Regions from separate parts of the Homo sapiens genome. Here region 2 is linked to region 1. The links are contacts of gene promoters, found by promoter capture Hi-C in blood cells and fetal thymus (Javierre and others, 2016). All regions are on one chromosome and are shown on one strand. Each heading gives the region's core, a stretch centred on a gene start or on the middle of the fragment in contact. The rest is flanking DNA. Distances are from core to core; before and after follow the strand shown.

Evidence for each region. The method cuts DNA at HindIII sites, captures the fragments that hold promoters and counts their contacts. A CHiCAGO score of 5 or more calls a contact.
Region 2: a fragment that was not itself captured here is called in contact with the fragment with the promoter of CDK5R1 in region 1 in 14 of 17 cell types (naive CD4 T cells, naive CD8 T cells, total CD8 T cells and 11 more); the score reaches 33.1 in naive CD4 T cells.

The regions. Positions count from the first base shown.
Region 1 is chr17:32,483,868-32,489,408 of GRCh38, reverse strand. CDK5R1 (cyclin dependent kinase 5 regulatory subunit 1) reads right to left here and starts at 2,416. Exons shown (of 2, transcript NM_003885.3): 1 at 2,247-2,416; 2 at 1-1,933. The coding sequence starts at 1,788. The coding sequence ends at 865. RefSeq lists enhancers at 1,330-1,889, 3,129-3,630 and silencers at 1,777-2,066, 2,157-2,416, 2,527-3,056. The HindIII fragment of the contact is 10,728 bases long and covers 1-5,541 here.
Region 2 is chr17:32,600,646-32,606,128 of GRCh38, reverse strand. It overlaps MYO1D (myosin ID), which reads left to right. Exons shown (of 22, transcript NM_015194.3): 21 at 888-1,042. Among named protein-coding and RNA genes, the nearest start is that of CDK5R1, 120 kb to the right of the region's middle. The HindIII fragment of the contact is 2,527 bases long and covers 2,680-5,206 here.

The DNA of each region.
Region 1 (5,541 bases), core at 1,167-3,666:
TTGCCCAGAAGGCAGGCGTTGCTAATGGGCACCTGCAGCTGTCCTGGCATTTGCCACAGGGTGACTGCACTACATTATTCAAAAGAAAAACTCACCCAGGAAAGCTGTCCCCAGCTTCACCCCACCTCTTTAGCTGGGACCCAAATTGAGAGAAATTAATGAGTCAAACCAGCTCATCGGCCAATACCACCAACGTGGCTGGGAGCAGCAGACAAGGGGGTAGGGGGGCGAGTTCCATTTCTCCACTAAAGAAAAGCCCTTCTCCCTAAAAAAAGAAAACAGCAAATCAGGGCGGTGTGTGGTCAAACGACCAGACACAATCTTTCCACTAGACCCGCTCAGCTTCGCCTCGCCTAGATTGAAGATGTCCCCGGGTGGCGGGGATCTTGCCTCACGACCCCACTGGCAGCTCAGTTAGGGTGGCTGGCTCCAGGAGCCTCTGGGAGAGTGAATAACTCCACACAGGAGCCAGAAAAGGGCCTCCAACCAGAAACCCCAATTCCTCCCTGGGCCAGGCAGCCAGAGGCCCCTCTCTAGCTCCATACAGGGTGCAGCCGGCAGCCTTGCCTACCCTGGACCCAGCAAGGGCACAGGCGGCAGGGGCAGGTCAGTCCTTTGAGTTCCCCAAAGTGGGAGGTCAGTGGCCTGGGTGGCTCTGAATACATCTTCTGGGTTTTGCGCAAGGCTCGTGAGTTCAAAAGTGCCCAGAGTTCTTGGCAGGGATGAAAAAAACCCCAGGGAGAGACTGTGGGAAAGGTGAGGCCCTTGGTGGCTTTGCTAGACACATACTGTACACAAAACTGATTTAATAATAAATTCTTAAAAATGCATTGAATCCTTGAGCCATGACGCAGGCTACAGTGCTCACCGATCCAGGCCTAGGAGGAGCCGCTTCTTGTCCTCCTGGCCGCTCTCGTTCTTCAGGTCGGAGAAGACCTGTGTGAAGTAGTGTGGGTCGGCATTTATCTGCAGCATCTTTGAGCTCATGAGGTTGATGACAGAGAGGCAACGGTCCCAAAAGGCCTCCTTGCAGCTCTCCACCAGGAAGGGCTTGAGCGGGTAGGAGATCTCGTTGCCCATGTAGGAGTAGGAGAGGTACAGGCATGTCAGCAGGACGGCCTGGAGCTCGTGATCCGAGCCCACCTCGGAGGAGATAACATCCCTGCAGAGCATGTAGAGGAAGACCACGTTGGCCGGCGTGATGAAGCCCTGGTCCTGCCAGCCCTGCAGAAGCAGCGAGCGGTCCACGCTGCGCAGCCAGAGCACGGGGTCCGTGGGGGACAGGTGCTTCAGGCGGTAGCACCGGCGGCAGAGAAACTCACCCAGGCAGCGAAGCAGCTCACTGGTGGACGCCTGGACGATGACCCGTTTGGGCGTCCCTGCGGAGGTGACGGCAGGGTGAGGGGCTTTCTTGACTGAGGAGGAGCCCCCGGTCTGGGAACCCGAGAGCTGGCTGGCCGGGGGTGCAGGCGGCTGGGCCGGTGGGGGCTGGGCGAATGTGGACAGGTTGGCGCACGACAGCGACTTCTTCAGGTTCTCATTGTTGAGGTGCGTGATGTTGTTCTGGTAGCTGCTGTTGGGCTGCACCTTCTTGGAGTTCTTCTTCTTGGCCGACACGGCCACGATTCTCTTCCAAGGCAGCACGGAGATGATGGAGTGGCGCTTCAGGTTCTTGTCCTTGGCGTTCTTGCTGTTCTGTACGGCCGTATAGTGGCCCACGGTGGCCGCGCCATCCTCAAACAGCGTGGCCTTCCGGTAGCTGGGAGACAGGGACAGCACCGTGCCCATGGTGCTGCTGCGCGCCGGGCGGGGGCTCGCGCCCCTGCGCGCCCAGCCTGCCGGCCGGAGGGATAAAACCGCTCACCGAGCCTGCGGCGGCCCCGGAGAGGAGGCGGGGGCGCTCCCGGGAAGCGTGCTGCCCCCTTGGATCTGCCTGGAAAACAAGATGGTTCTTAGCGCCAGGCTGGGCTCCGCGCCGCGCCCCTGCGCCCCTGCGCCCCTCCGCCCCGCGCCTCGGCGCACCCCGCCGCCCCAGTCCCGGGCCCTACCCGCGCCCCCGCGACGCAGCCTCGCCGCCTCCACTGCAGCACCCCCGCCCGCCGCCGCCGCTGCGGTCCCCAGGCGCAGCCGGGAGGGGCCCGGTCGCCGACGGAGGCGGCCGAGGACCCCCGCCTGGACACCCCGCACGGGCGCGACCCCGGTCTCCGCTCCCCAGGGCCAAGGACGGCCGCCCAGCGCAGGCTTACCCGGCAGGCGGCAGCTCCTGCGCTCCGCGCCCTCCGCAATGCGCGCCGCGGCCCCGCCGCCGCGGTCCCGGCGCTCGGCGGCGCTCGGGGGCGCTCGGCGGGGATCGGCTGGGCTCGCGCTCGGCGGCGGCGACGGCGGCGGCGGCGGCGGCGGCAGCTAGGGAGCTTCTGTCCAAGGTTCTGCAGGCACCGCAGCCCCGCCCCCCGCTCGGCCGCCCGCACCTTCGCCGCCGCCGCCGCGCTCCCGCTCCCGCTCCCGCTTCCGGCGCGCGCCTCAGCGCCCTCCCTCGCGGGGCGCGCGCGCCGTCCACGCTCCGGCCTGGTCTCGCCGGGGAGTCGCGGCCGTTGGTGTCCTCAGCTCGAGCCGCGCACGGTGCGGGTAGGACGCGGCAACGAGCGGGAGGCACCTCTACGCGCCGGGCCCCATCTAGGAGCCGGACTCCGCGGCTGCGGCGGGACACGCGGCGTCGGCCCGCCCCGCCCCTCGGGGCCGCCCCTCCCGCACAGCTCGCCGCCCGCTCCGCGCCGCCGCCCAACAGCAGCCCGGCCGCCGGAGAGTCCTCGGCGCCCGCGCAACCCAACTCTGCCGACGCGGGGCGGGCGCCGAGCAGGGCGGAGCCGAGGGCCGACCCCGCCCGCGTCCCGCCCAGACACGTGCTGCCTTTGTTCCCGCCGCGGCGCCCGCAGCTGCCGGCCGCGGGGGCACTCTCGGCCGAGTCCCTGCCCTGGCAGCGCGCGGCCCGCCCTCTCTGAGGCTGCCGCCCTGGCCTGGTGAGGAGCCCTCCGCCGAGGCCAGGGTCCGGAGCTCCCTCCTTCCACCTGACATCCCCGTCCCTGTGGAAAGCAGCCAGGGAGCGCGGGGAAGAAGGCCCTGGGCGGGGAGAGGCGACGCCTTTACTGAGGCCTCCCGAGTGCCACGCGCACCTCGAGTGGACAGTCCAATCGGTTCTGGCCACCCCTCCGGGGCCTCCGTTCCCTCATCATGGGTAGATGACCGCGGCCGAAGTGGGCCTCAGAGATCCAAGCCAGAGAAGCGTGGCCCGTAGCCAAGCCTGAGCCCGTCACAAATATGACCTCTAAGTTCCCACTCGCCCTCTTATTTGTCATATTAAAGCTGAAGCAACTGCCCCTCCGGCCAGCTTTCTGACCCTCTTAAACGTTTTCAATTCTAAGTATGTATAATTTGAGAACTTGATGCTAGCGAAATTGAGTAAAATTCTGTTTCTGAAAGCTGTTCCTGTCAGATGTGAATCCAGATCCTTCACAAAGGCTGTTGTTCATTTACTATTTTACCTTGTTTCTGGAGATCGAGTCAAAACTGACCACAAACCTGGGAAACAGGAAACTTAAGCCCTGTCTTAATCCAGATTATCTCTGGACCTAGAGATGAGGGAGTGGCTCTCCAGAGGAGAGGATGCCACCCAGTTACCTGACCACTCCAGCCGACTAGGCTTTCACCAGCCCTGTCAACTGTCCTAGGGGGAACAGAAAGGGAATCTGGCATCATTCAAAATGGTGCAATCAAGGCAGAAAGTGCTGGGTTTTGTTTATGTGCCACTCAGATTTCTGTCAATAGGAATTCCAGGCTTTAGGAACCTTGGGGGGCAAGGCATACAGTGGAAAATGCATTGCTCTGTACCCAGAGGGCTACTTTGTCCACAGCCTTTCAGAACATCCACAACAGCTGTTATGGGAACTCAGAAGAGGAAGGCAGGCCCCCAGCTCAGTGCGCCCCTCCCTGTGAATGTTCCTCAGTGTACAAGCCTACCTGCTCTTCAAATGGAGCTGTCCTCAACCCTCCTGCATGTAACAGTAAGAAGCCAGAAGAGGCCGACGCAGTGGCTCATGCTTGTAATCCCAGTATTTTGGGAGGCCGAGGCGGGTGGATCACCTGAGGTCAGGAGTTCGAGACCAGCCTAGCCAACATGGTGAAACCCCGTCTCTACTAAAAATACAAAAAAAATTAGCCAGGCGTGGTGGCAGGCACCTGTAATCTCAGCTACTCAGGAGGCTGAGGCAGGAGAATCGCTTGAACCTGGGAGACAGAGGTTGCAGTGGGCCGAGATTGCACCATTGCACTCCAGCCTGGGCAACAAGAGCGAAACTCCATCTCAAAAAAAAAAAAAAAAAAAAAAAAAAAGCCAGAAGAAACGATTTGCTTCGAGACCCTGACCAAGTGTCCCTTTTCCTTCTCAAAGGAAAGCCGAACCCCAGCCTCTTTTCCTCAGCCCTTACTTGGAGCCTCTAGCTCCTGAGTTGGCTCTGTGCCCCCCTTCAGATTCTAGTGTTGAGCCAAGGTTAAATGTTTTCCACTTCCCAAAATATGTCCAAATTTTGAAGCCTATAATCCACCCCGGCCAGGCGTGATGGCCACACTGTGTCCAGCAGTTTCAGAGGCCAAGGCGGGCGGATCACCTGAGGTCAGGAGTTTGAGACCAGCCTGGCCAACATGGTGAAACCCGTCTCTACTAAAAAAATTAGCTGGGCGTGGTGGCGGGTGCCTATAATCCCAGCTACTCGGGAGGCTGAGGCAGGAGAATAGCTTGAACCCGGGAGGCAGAGGTTGCAGTGAGCTGAGATTGTGCCACTGCATTCCAGCCTGGGTGACAGAGTGACACTTCGGCTAAAAAAAGAAAAATCCACCCCCTAGAAAAACCTGGGCCCACTCTGTTACCTTTAACTCTCAATCTCAATTCTAGCTATTCCAATTCACGGGGAGGCGGACCAAGCTCACCCCACTACCCTGCTTCCCACTCTGCAGCAGCATGCCTCTGCATGGGCCTTTTCAAGCCAGGCCATACCCTGTGTCTTCTCACCTTTGTCCAGCCAGCCTTTCCCTAGCACCTTCAAACAGAGCTCTCGGCAGAACACCAGCCTCCTCACACTTGCCCAAGGCAAAGTCACAGTTGCAGCACAGCAGGAATGGGATGGCACTGGCAGCCCACTTGCTGCTGCGACTAAGGGAGGGGTCTCCAGGAGCTCCTATCACCCAGGCCATGCCTGTTATGCTGGTTTTCAGACACCACAGAGCTCCTCTTTTCATTCAACCCACCACCACCTCCCCACCCCCAGTTCCTATCACTGCTCCAACTGGAAGCAAGGAAGAAAGGACAGTCAACTGCCAGAAATGGCAGAACCAAGGACCCAGAAGGCAGACCCAGTTGAATGAGGCAGAGCTGTTTTCTTCCTAGCTGCCTTCATCATAGAACTGCAGGGAAGATTTCCAAATCCCACCCCCATCAATCAGCCTACTTAGCCTATTGCCTATCTCTAGCTGCCTGAAGGGCCAGCCTGC
Region 2 (5,483 bases), core at 2,694-5,193, 120 kb before region 1:
TAAATAATTATTTGTTGTTGTTGTTGAGATGGAGTCTCACTCTGTCACCAGGCTGGAGTGGAGTACAGTGGCATGATCTCAGCTCACGGCAACCTCTGCCTCCTGGGTTCAAACAGTTCTCCTGCCTCAGCCCCCCAAGTAGCTGGGACTACAGGCGCACGCCTCCATGCCCGGCTAATGTTTTTTTGTGTGTTTTTTTTTTTGTATTTCAGTAGAGATGGGGTTTCACCATGTTGCCAAGGCTGGTCTCGAACTCCTGAGCTCAGGCAATCCGCCCGCCTTGGCCTCCCAAAGTGCTAGGATTACAGGTGTGAGCCACTGCACCCTGCCAGAATTATTTGGTTTTAACTAAGTTGTTGAATAAGTTTTTGTATAGAATTGGTCCAAATATTTTAATATTATCCTTTTAATGTCTGTGTGGTCTATAGAGATGGCCCCTCTTCCATTCCTGATATTGGCAATAAGTTCTTCCTTCTTTTTTTGTTTTGGGCTAGAGGTTTATCAATTTTATTGATCTTCTGAAAGAACCATCCCTGTTTCATTAATTTTTCTGTATTGTTTTTCTATTTCAAATTTTGTTCATTTCTGCTCTTTATTATTTCCTTCCATCTGCTTGTTCCGTGAAACTGATAGAAGATTAAAGTCAGGGGGTCACTGAGCAAAACCCTTAGAAAATGTATGACGTGTTTTGTTGTTTTTAGGGATGGTGTCTCGTTATGTTGTCCAGGCTGGATTCAAACTCCAGGGCTCAAATGATCATCCTGTATCAGCCTCCCAAGTAGCTGGGACTACAGGCACATGCCACCATGCCCAGCTCCAAAATGTATTTTTTAATTCATTCTTTTGAGAATGATCCAAATAGTTTTCCATGCATTTTCTCTTTGCAGTTGACTGGTCTGAGTGTCTCCAATGGAAAGGACCAACTTGTAGTGTTCCATACGAAAGACAACAAAGACCTCATTGTCTGCCTCTTCAGCAAACAGCCAACCCATGAGAGTCGAATTGGAGAACTTGTTGGAGTGCTGGTGAATCATTTCAAGAGGTAAAGTTTGATTTTTGTAACTAAGACACGTTTTAAATCTATGAAATCTTTAATCGTAATTATCACTGAGCTTGTTTTGTGCCAATTTTAATGTATTGAGCTATTTTTCTCCATAAGGACAACTTAAATCATCTGTTTCGCAGAAGGTAAAATTAGCATCCCAGCTTACTTTCAAGGTTAGGAATGATCCTCTACTTTTCCAGCCTCCAGCTGAACCAACAATGAGAGATTTCCCTAAATGGTGATTTTTATTCCACTGTCGATCCAAATGCAATTAAATCCAAAAGATAGACAAATTACTTTATATTCTTCTCGTCATAGCTTCTCATTTACCCCAAGTATAATCAGTTTGTGTGTCCACTATGACCATAAGCAAATTAGAAGGCAGATTTGGGATGGTTTGCAAGTCCATGAAGACTACAAGAATTCCTGAGAGAGGCAGTGACCACTGCAGAAACATGGAGTCATGATGGAACATGGCATAATCTGAGAACTTCATAGTAAGCCCTGATGATACCTGGGGCAGGGGGGTGAACAATGATATAATAAATATAAACAGAGAGCAGGTCCTGAGAGTGATGGGGACCAGTGAATGGATAATTTTAAGCAGGGGAGTGATTTTGTCTGGTTATTTATTGGAGTTGTTTCAGAGATTGGATTTCTCTTCCCATAAGGGGTCATGGAGTATTTGGGTGGGTGTATCTCTCCAAAGTCAAGTGCTCTCTTTGTGGCATGCTGCCTTCACCTCCCCAACCCCACCTGATGCTGGGAGAAGACCACTCATCAAAATCAGTGACTAAGAAATGATACAAGTGTAGTTACTTTTTCTTCCTAAAAGACATTTCCTGAGTTCCTAAAATTAATCAAGTATTCCTTATTAGTATGTTTTTTTTTTTCAGTTTAGACGTGGCTTCTCTTTCTCTCAACAAACACATATTTGGAATCAGATGTCCACATATCTAATTCTATTGTATTCATTTTGGCTGATAAATGTATAGAGCATAATTTTAGAGGTGGGCTGCACAGACCATTTATTTTATGTTATTACACCTTACATTCTAGATCAAAGTAGATCTTTAAATATTTTCTATCATTAAATGCTTTTACATGCTGTAAGTAAAATAATACTTAATGGTCATTTGTGGGGAAAAAATAAGAAAGTAATTACCAAAAATAATAATAAATGCATAGACTTTTGAAAATTCCTTTCCATCTGCCAAATAAATGTAAAGCTAAGAAAAATTTTAAAAAGTTTAGAATGTGGCCAGGCGCAGTGGCTCACGCCTGTAATCCCAGCACTTTGGGAGGCTGAGGCGGGCGGATCACGAGGTCAGCAGATCGAGACCATCCTGGGTAACACAGTGAAACCCCGTCTCTACTAAAAATACAAAAAATTAGCTGGGCTTGGTGGCGGGCACCTGTAGTCCCAGCTACTCAGGAGGCTGAGGCAGGAGAATGGCGTGAACCTGGGAGGCGGAGCTTGCTGTGAGCCAAGATCCCGCCACTTCACTCCAACCTGGGCAACAGAAGGAGACTCTGTCTCAAAAAAAAAAAAAAAAAAAAAAGTTTAGAATGTAAGGAAAAGACATAAAGAAGGCATCTCTGCAATAAATGTCTATAACTCAAATAAGCAAGCTTATTTTCCTGCTAATATTTATAGCAAAGTATAGAAAATTAAAGGAATTTTAATTTGTTACTCTTAATTTGGATACCAGTACTAATGAATGCAAGAGTTTTTGCCTGGGAGATTGAAGTATTTTATCTCTATCTGGGTGCTTATTTAGCAAATTCTGATCTATTAAGTGCCTTCTACAAGTGACAGAAATACGTGAACCTGGATGTAGATTTCATCAGTTGCTTTCTTTTCCTAGCTAGCATATGCATGCTGAGGTACATTTCTAGGCGTATGTCCTCTATCTTTAATGTATGTAAGGATTTTTAATTTCTTTAAAATTTATAAATGTGAAGAGAAGACTATCAAGATGCTAGGAATTTTTTGGTGGATTTTTTTTTTTTAATTCTTGGTGTTTCTATCTTATGAATTAAGAGTGAAGTGGAAATGAGAGATAAAATCTTTCCTCCCAGACCCCAGAAAAGTCAGGCTTGAAATTTTGACTTAGAGTTTTAGTCATCAACTTACTATTTACTTTTTGGGAAAAGGTTAATTTGATTTTTTCTAGCTATTTTCCTTTATTGTCAACTATCGTATCATTGCCATGACATTGAAATTCACATTGTATTTTATAAGCATGATGTTGTGGCACATAATCTTATTTGTCCCTGAGTTAATTATGGAAATCCAAAGGTTCGGGAGGGAATTAACTTCAGACCAATTCTTTATCTTCCAGATAATTTCCCTAAAGTACATTCTGAGATGTGTTCTTGTCAGCAGTTGGGAGGAAAGGGCTCAAAACTTCCCAAGGCTGAGGCAAGAACCAGCTAAGAGGACCAGAGGGAACAGTGCCCAGCCTCACAAAGAGCCAGGAGTAGTTTCTGATCTAACAAGGCAGACTAAAGAACTTCGTCATTCACAGGGTAATTGGGTACAGTATTCAGAAGGGTTTTGCCTCAGTAGGGGGGAATAATTGGCCCTAGAATAAATGCTGCTCTGGTACCACCTAATAAATCTTAAAAGCAAGACCCAAAAGGATCAAACTGCTTCCAAGTAACTTAGCTATGTCCTGAAACAAAGCTCATGTATATTTCTAAAAACACAAAAATATCCATACCCAACAGGTAAAATTCACAATGTCTGACATCCAGTCAAAGATTACGGGCATGCAAATAGGAAAATACAGTCCATTATGAGGGGGAGAATCATCCCTTTGAAACCAACCCAGAACAGACAAAGATACTAGAATTAGCAGATACAGACATTGTAAGTCATTATAACTAGATTTCAGATGTTTATAAGTTAACTAGAGATAAGGAAGATGTAAGAAAAAGACCCAAATCGAACTTCTAGATGAAAAATACACTGATGTTTGAGATATTCCATGATTTAAAAAGAAAACAAAACAAGACAAAGCATGTCCTCGAATAAATTTTTCCTCATCACCATGAGTTGAAGCCAGAACTTTCCTGGCATTTCCTTTCACATGAATCTTGAAACAAAAACCAACTAAGTATAAATTAGTCTCTCTTTCACCTCCTGCAGTCTTTATTCAATCCAGACCCATTATTTCTGCCTCTCCAAGTACACACCCACATATTTTATGTTTGCTAAAACATTTGAAGACAATCTTTAATAAAGTACAGGTATACCTCGTCTTACTGTTCTTGACATTATTACACTTCACAGATATTGTGGTTTTTATAAATTGAAGGTTTATGGCAACCCTGCATTGATCAAGTCTATTAGCACCATTTTTCCTACAGCATATGCTCACTTTATGTCTCTGGACACTGGAAGAAGATGCCATCTAGAACTTTCATAGCTAGAGAGGAGAAGGTCAATGCCTAGCTTCAAAGGACAGGCTGACTCTTTTGTTAGGAGCTAACAAATTGCCACAGCAATTTTGATAATTCTCATAATATTTCAAAACTTTATATTGTTATTAACTGCTATGGTGGGCTTTGATCAGTGATCTTTGTTATTACTGTAATCATTTCAGGGCACCACAAACTGTACCCATGTAGGACAACAGACTTAACTGATCAATGTCGTGTGCGTTCTGACTGCTCCACTGACCATCTATTCCCTCATCTCTCTTCCTCTCCTCAGGCTCCCCTATTCCCTGAGATACAACAAGATTGAAATTAGGTCAGTTAATAACCCTACAGTGGCTTTTAAATGTTCAAGTGAATGGGAGAGTTACACATCTCTCAGTTTATTTTAAAAACTAGAAATGAGCCAGGTATCATGGCTCATTCCTGCGACCCCAGCACTTTGGGAAGTTAAAGCGGGAGGATTGCTTGAGGCCAGGAGTTCCAGACCAAGGTCTGCGCAACATAGTGAGACTCCATCTCTACAAAAAAATTTAAAAGTTAGTCAAGCATGGTGGTGCACACCTGTAGTCTGTAGTCCCAGCTACTTAAGAGGCTGAATTCAAGGCTGCAGTGAGCGATGATCGTGCCACTGCACTTCAACCTGGGTGACAGAACAAGACCTTGTCTCAAAAAAAAAAAAAAAAGGGAAAAGAAAAAGCTAGAAATGATTAAGCTTAGTGAGGAACGCAGGTTGAAAGCTGAGATAGGCCAAAAGCTGGGCCTCTTAAATTAAACAGCCCAGTTGTGAATGCAAAGGAAAAGTTCTTGAAGGAAATTAAAAGTGCTACTGCAGTGAATACATGAATAATAAGAAAGTGAAACAGTCTTATTGCTGATACGGAGAAAGTTTGAGTGGTCTGGATAAAAGATCAAACCAGCCACAACATTCCCTTAAACCAAAGCCTAATGCAGAGCAAGGCCCTAAACTCTCTTAAATTCTTTGAAGGCTGAG